Regions from separate parts of the Homo sapiens genome. Here region 1 is linked to region 2. Evidence: promoter capture Hi-C in 16 types of primary human blood cells and fetal thymus (Javierre and others, 2016). All regions are on one chromosome and are shown on one strand. Each heading gives the region's core, a stretch centred on a gene start or on the middle of the fragment in contact. The rest is flanking DNA. Distances are from core to core; before and after follow the strand shown.

Region 1 (3,536 bases), core at 433-2,932, 160 kb after region 2:
ACATACTATTTGAAGTTAAAGAGAAGGGCCAGGCTGGCCAGGCGCGGTGGGTCACACCTGTAATCCCAGCACTTTGGGAGGCCAAGGCGGGTGGATCACGAGGCCAGGAGTTTGAGAACACGCTGGCCAACATGGTGAAACCCCCGTCTCTACTAAAAATACAAAAAATTAGCCTGGCGTGGTGGCAGGCACCTGTAATCCCAGCTACTCGGGAGGCTGAGGCAGGAGAATCGCTTGAACCCAGGAGGTGGAGGTTGCAGTGAGCCGAGACAGCGCCACTGCACTCCAGCCTGGGCAACAGAGTGAGACTCCCGTTTCAAAAAAAAAAAGACAAGGGCCAGGCACAGTGGCTCACACCTGTAATCTCAGCACTTTGGGAGGCTTAGGCAGGAGGATCACTTGAGCCCAGGAGTTCAAGACCAGCCTGGGCAACATAGTGACTCCCCATCTCTACAGAAAAATTAATTTAAAAAAATTAGCTGGGTGTGGTAACATGTGCCTGTAGTACCAGCTACTCGAGAGGCTGAGGCAGGAGGATTGCTTGAGCCCAGGAGTTCAAGGCTGCAGTAAGCTATGATCATGCCACTGCACTCCAGCCTGGGCCATAGAACAAAATCCAAACTCTGTTTTAAAAAACACAGAAAGAGAAAATGTAGTATTCTGGAAGGCACTAGGGAAAGTCAGGATTTGTGGTCAGGAGTAATACTAGCCTCAAAGGGACTTCCAGTCTTTTAGGGGAAATAAAACCTGTATCCAAGTAAGCATCCACACAGGCAGCCATGATTCACACCATCTGAGTGTTACCAATGAATGCCCATGTGGCGTGGGAGGAGGGAGTCCGGACATTCTTGACTGTGGGATCCGCACCTGCCAGCTGCTTCCCGGTTCTCTCCTTTTCTCCTTCTGTAGCTATGAATAATGTAGAAATAGCACTTGCAGTAACAGAAGGCTGGAGATCTAGCTACTTTTCAAGTAGCAAATCTTTTTTTAAAAAGCTGTCTTCTTTGAAATTTATGCCTGGAGGTTTAAGGGCCTAGAATTTATTTAACTTTAAGGAACTAATGGATCTGTTTTAGAAATGCTTAAGCTGCAAAACATCCAGTTGGCTTGGAGTGCCTGTCTACTTAATACGAACAAGTTTGAGTAGGACCCTTCTGCCCCCAGTGGTTTAGAAGTAATACTGTTAGAATCTTATTGTGGTCCAGGCCTTCTGGACTTTTCTTAGCACAGACAGTATCTAATTGGGTGAAAAGCCAAATGACTTAATCTAGTTTCAAGAAAGTCCTTGAGAAAATGTCTGTGAGTTCTATGTGGGGAGGGCTGGTTGGGAGCAGGAAGCAAAGTGGGATTTATTACCTATATTATAGACCACAGGAATCTTTTTTTTTTTTTTTTTTTTTTTTTGAGACGGAGTCTCGCTCTGTCGCCCAGGCTGGAGTGCAGTGGCGCAATCTCGGCTCACTGCAAGCTCCGCCTCTCGGGTTCACGCCATTCTCCTGCCTCAGCCTCCGAAGTAGCTGGGACTACAGGCGCCCACCACCATGCCCGGCTAATTTTTTTTGCATTTTTAGTAGAGACGGGGTTTCACCGTTTTAGCCAGGATGGTCTCGATCTCCTGACCTTGTGATCCGCCCGCCTTGGCCTCCCAAAGTGCTGGGATTACAGGCGTGAGCCCCCGTGCCCAGCCAACCACAGGAATCTTAAGATTCGGCAAGGGTTGTGTGTCTTGCACACATATCTACAAGTGTTCCTTGGAAGTAGGATTTGAACCAGAGATTCCTGGGTTCTTGACCATCATGCGTCTTTGTCCTGACCCTTGAGAGGGCCACTTCCTAAACCTAGCCAGTTTGTGTGCCCACAGACCCAGGGTCACAGCTGCAGGCATGACCACCTCTTCTACTGCGCAGACACTCCTTCAGTCACAGCAAAACCTGTCTGGATTCTCTACTCTGAAAAGTTATCTAGGCTATAAAACAAAATATCATTATTCCGTAATTTCCTAAAGTGCACTTGTATGTATTGAAAAGATTATAGATAGAAACATACATAACTTTTAAATGTTTTCTATGCGGAATTTCTCATTATGTCCAGCATGTGGTTTACCATGTTTATCATCTCCTGTTGTCTTAAGGTCAGGGGTTGCAACAAGGGAGGTCAAAATTGGCCGGGGCTGAGCACAAATACACACCCACAGCCCTTCAGTGACCTCAGGCAGCAAGATGCCTCCCACCTCCCCCCAGCACCCAAGCAATCCCTTCGGAAGGTCTACTGATTGTTCTTAAGGGTTAGGAAACATTTTCTTAGTAAATAGTGAAAACTTACTTTTTGAAAGTAGTGGCTAGAAGTGATTCCTTAAACTGATCATGAGTATTAAATTGTACCAAATTTTACGTGATTGTTTATCATTTTAGGAATGGTGAGAAGGGACATACAATTAAATTTTAAAATGTTTTAAGAAGAAATAATGATATTTTATCATTCTACTTTGAGGGCTTAATAGTATGTGCTAATTTGCAGATGGATGAAGTTGACCTTTACCTACAAATAACCTAATAAGAAATGATCATTGCTGGCCGGGCGCGATGGCTCACGCCTGTAATCCCAGCACTTTGGGAGGCTGAGGCAGGCGGATCACGAGGTCAGGAAATCGAGACCATCCTGGCTAACACGGTGAAACCCCATCTCTACTAAAAATACAAAAAATTAGCCGGGTGTGGTGGCGGGCGCCTGTAGTCCCAGCTACTCAGGAGGCTGAGGCAGGAGAATGGCATGAACCCGGGAGGCGGAGCTTGCAGTGAGCCGAGATTGCACCACTGCACTCCAGCCTGGGCGACAGAGCGAGACTCCGTCTCAAAAAAAAAAAAAAAAAAAAAAAAAAGAAATGATCATTGTCAGAAAAGACGCTTCATTAAGTAGTGCCAGTGTTTTTGTTTGCGGTCTGCAATTGTCAGATGGTCGGTCCCTATGTTCACAGTCTCGGGAGGCTTGGAGATATAGTCAGCACCCTTTGTGCTGGCTGCTCTCTCTGTAGTCATGCTTAGCTCAGTTGTTTTGTGGGTAAGTTACTTAAACAGGAAATTGAAGTATTTCTGTGACTACTTCTGCTCTCACTACTGCAAAACCTTTCTCTTTATAGCTCTGGACTTATTGGACAAAATGTTGACATTCAACCCACACAAGAGGATTGAAGTAGAACAGGCTCTGGCCCACCCATATCTGGAGCAGTATTACGACCCGAGTGACGAGGTAAGAGCTCATGTTCCTGGCTGCTGCTTCAGGGACATAGATCAGCCAGCAGTGGACCAACCATATCTTGCTTAGATTTTCCTGAGATATACCTGCTGCCATACCCGGTTCTTCCAACAAGCCCACCTTTGCCTTGAGGACGAGTGCTGTGGGGCACAGCTTGAAATCCCTCCCCCCGTAACTCTGTCTATCTCAGAAGACTTCCTCCAGGCCACCTGCAACAGGTAGGGGCGGGGTAAACGCATGTATAAAGGGGACAGCTGCACCAGTATGGAGCACAGAGGGCATGG
Region 2 (3,298 bases), core at 588-3,087:
GAGGTACTGGGGGTTAGGGCCTCAGTGTATGAATTTAGGGGGGACACAATTCAACCCAGAACACTCCCCACCCCCCAGGGTCCCCAGCTGGCATGGGTGATTCCTCTGCCCTCCTGTGGCCAGGAGCCATCATCAGCATGGATGTCAGGCAGTTTACTTGCCCATCAACAGCCCCCTCCCAACTAGCCGCAGGCTCAAGTATGGTCCAGCTCCCCACCAGATGGTTGTGCGTCTGCCTTTGCTGTCCTGTGACCTTCCTGTCCCAGCTCCCTGAGGACAGGGGCCGCCCTGCTGGCCGTGACCCCTCAGCATGTGGGCTGACAGTTGGGGAAGGGGGGCTAGGTGTGGTCTCCTGCTGGGGGCTGCCCCTCACTTCCCCCTCCTCATCCCTAGGAAGGCCCCGCCACCACTTGCTGCTGCTCTGGCCCACGAAGCAGTTTCACAGCTGCTACAGACAGACCTTTCCGAATTCAGGAAGTTGCCCAGGGAGGAAGAAGAAGAGGAGGAGGACGATGACGAGGAGGAAAAGGCCCCTGTGACCTGTGAGTTCTGTTTCTTCTGAGGTGGCCCCAGGGCTGCTTAGCAGGCAACAAAGGGTGACGACATTGTGGGAAGCCCATTGATTGGGGTCCCTAAGGGTGCTGGGGCCCTCGCTCACAACGGCAGCAGAATCAAGGAGCAGAGAAGGCTTGCGGCCCCAGTGAGGTGGAGGGTGGCGGTCACAGCCCTCCACAGGTCATATAGTTCCCAGTCAGCCCACGAGGCAGGGGTGGGTGGTGCAGACACCCTCCTGTGTCCTGTCTGACTGAAGTTCCAGAACAGCCCAGGAAATTAAAGATGCTTATCCCGTTTCACAGAGGATCTCACAGGTGATCGATCTCTGGTCATGCAGCCAGGTTCAAGTGCCCTCAGTGTTGTAACTCAGTTAACATGCGCCCGGGCAGGCGAAGTCAGGGTTGGCCAGGTGGCATGCCAGCAGGTCTCGGGGCAGCAGCGTGGTCCCCTCAACGCTCGGGCCCCCTGCCTCAGCTGCCCCCAAGTCAGGATTCTGTTGGGTGGAGACGCTCTACGGTGTCCATGAGCCCCATGGTTAGATGCTGGTGGAAGCTTGTCTGTCAGCCTGCTCCTGGGACAGCCATAAGCATGGTGTGGCCAGGGGAACCCAGAAATGGAGAGGGCTGCAGATCCATTTCACAGAGGATATAATCATTAAAAAGCAGGGCTTTTATTTCATGTGACTTTCTTTCATTCTCCTAGTAATTTCATTTTATTATATTTCGCCAAAGTGTTGGTTGATGTTAGACCAGAAATACAGGGCGTAAGAATCGCAGGCTGCAGCAGGGGTGCCACAAGGGGGTAGCAACGTCCCACCCAGCTGAATAGTTGTCCCTGGACAGGCCAGCAGGCAGCAGAGTTGCAGTGGATTTTCCCTTCCTTGCCATTTCCTGTCGGCCATTTCCTTTCCCTTCCTTTGCCATTTCCTTTCCTTTCCCTGTTGTTCTAAATTCGGCATTACTAGTGCATGCGTGCATCCGGGGAAAAGGAACAAGGTGGGAGAAGAGAGAGAAAGCGAATACCCGAGGCCGCCAGCATCAGTGGGTGCCCGCGCTCTCCTCCTCGCTCTCGTCCTCTGCCCTCCGCCCTGGCTCCCTGCCCGCATTCCCTGGGAGCGCAGCCTTGCCTTAGCCTGGGAGACAGCTGTCCACAGTGACAGGCGGCCATTGTTCTCGGCCGAGCCAGCAGGCTTCCGGCCGGTGGCAGCTGCTGCTCCTCCGCTCTGCGGCCCCACCAAGGGGGCGCCGCCACCGCCCAGGCCCTCCCCGCCTGATGGGTCTCTGTCCGTCCACGCGGGAGACAGCGCCACCTGCCGGTGAGAAGGAGCGTTGCTGCGCCGGCACCAGCCCAGTCCTACGCTCGGGGCTCCTGCAGGCCTGGGAAGGAGGGAGGGCGCAGCTAGAAGGAAGTCTCGCCTGCCCTTGCTTCCCCGTCTGTCAGAGTGCCTCGCATGCAGGCCTGCCTAGCGGCCTTGATCATGCTCTCCCTGTCACGGAAGTAGAATGTAGTCAAGTTTTTGGACTCCAAGCCATTCTTACAAAATTGCGTCAGAGTGGGGATTGTATTATAAGAATTGCCACTGAAGAGCAGCGAGTGGCTGAAACCTCTGTGTGGCTGCCAGTCAGCCCCTCCCCGGTGACTGGATCAGCGAAGAATCCAGAAGCGAGGTTGCGGGGCTGCAGCCCTTGGCATGGGGAGTCCGTGGGCTGGGCAGCACTGCCTCAGCCGCTGGCCTTTCCTGAGCAGAGTCTAGGCTAAGCGGCTGTTGGAAATAGCAGTAGCACCCGGGGCGAGACCGTGAGCCACAGCGGCGGCCGGAGTCTCCCCCAGCCCGAGCTCAGGCCTGGTAAGCACCAGGAGCCCACAGTTTCCAGAGGGAGTGAGGAGGAGTCCATGGCATTTAGGGGCAGTTTTCTGGGCACAGTGGCCCTCAGACGAGAGGAAGAGGAGGCAGCGCTACAAGGACTGGCAGGACGAGGGGGGTTTCCTGCTGGTTTGCAGGGGATCCACTGGCCAAACTTGTGTGGAGCTGCCTTCCCTGAGCTGGGCCTGCCTGAATGAGTTCTCAGGCCCCTCCTTCACCCATAGCCTTGCCAGTCCCCAGTTCTTGCCAAATGCTTGAATAGGCCCCTGTGTTGGCCATGGCGGCAGCAGCTGGCTCTGGATGCCCCCACCCCTGCCTTGATGCATGGATTCCCAAGAACCTGTCTTTCTGTGACCTCCTGCGTGCATAAGCCCTCGCGTTCATGGTTCTTCCTCGGTGGCCCCCTCTGGCCTCAGCCCTTCTCCTTTTCTTCCACAGCCTCCGCCTTTAGGCAGGAGCTCTTTCCTCCTCTCAGTTCCCCATGTCCTTTGGGTGTGGCCTGTGACACTCAACTCCTGCCCTCGGCTGACTGGCCCTGATTCACCATGCTTGCCACATGCACCTGGGCTGGCAGGAGTTCCAGGAGAGTTTGTGCATTGAAGTGACATGAGTCCCTGAAGCCAGAGCCCCCATGGTTTCCTTTGGGCCTGTTACTGGTTGATCTTTTCTTGAGAAGCCAAGCTTAGGTAGGATTTGGGTATTTTTTCTTTTCAAATGAGTATTGTGGCTTATATTATTTGTTGCTACATAACAAATTGCCCCAAATGTAGTGGCTTAAAACAACAGACATTTATTCTCCCAGTTTCTGTGGGTCTGGAATCTGGGAGCAGCTTAGCTGGTTCTGGTCCAGGGTCTCTTACTGGGTTGTGGTGACATGGT

The links. Contacts are between HindIII fragments. The CHiCAGO score rates a contact against its expected background, and 5 or more counts as called.
Region 1: a fragment that was not itself captured here is called in contact with the fragment with the promoter of PPM1F-AS1 in region 2 in 12 of 17 cell types (megakaryocytes, neutrophils, endothelial precursors and 9 more); the score reaches 15.4 in megakaryocytes.

The regions. Positions count from the first base shown.
Region 1 is chr22:21,772,583-21,776,118 of GRCh38, reverse strand. It overlaps MAPK1 (mitogen-activated protein kinase 1), which reads left to right. Exons shown (of 9, transcript NM_002745.5): 7 at 3,137-3,246. Among named protein-coding and RNA genes, the nearest start is that of YPEL1, 39 kb to the right of the region's middle. The HindIII fragment of the contact is 4,906 bases long and covers 1-3,536 here.
Region 2 is chr22:21,936,776-21,940,073 of GRCh38, reverse strand. It overlaps PPM1F-AS1 (PPM1F antisense RNA 1), which reads right to left and starts at 1,837. Exons shown (of 2, transcript NR_147620.1): 1 at 461-1,837. It overlaps PPM1F (protein phosphatase, Mg2+/Mn2+ dependent 1F), which reads left to right. Exons shown (of 8, transcript NM_014634.4): 3 at 394-542. RefSeq lists enhancers at 1-605, 606-1,413, 1,414-2,220 and a silencer at 1,703-1,862. The HindIII fragment of the contact is 1,993 bases long and covers 1,110-3,102 here.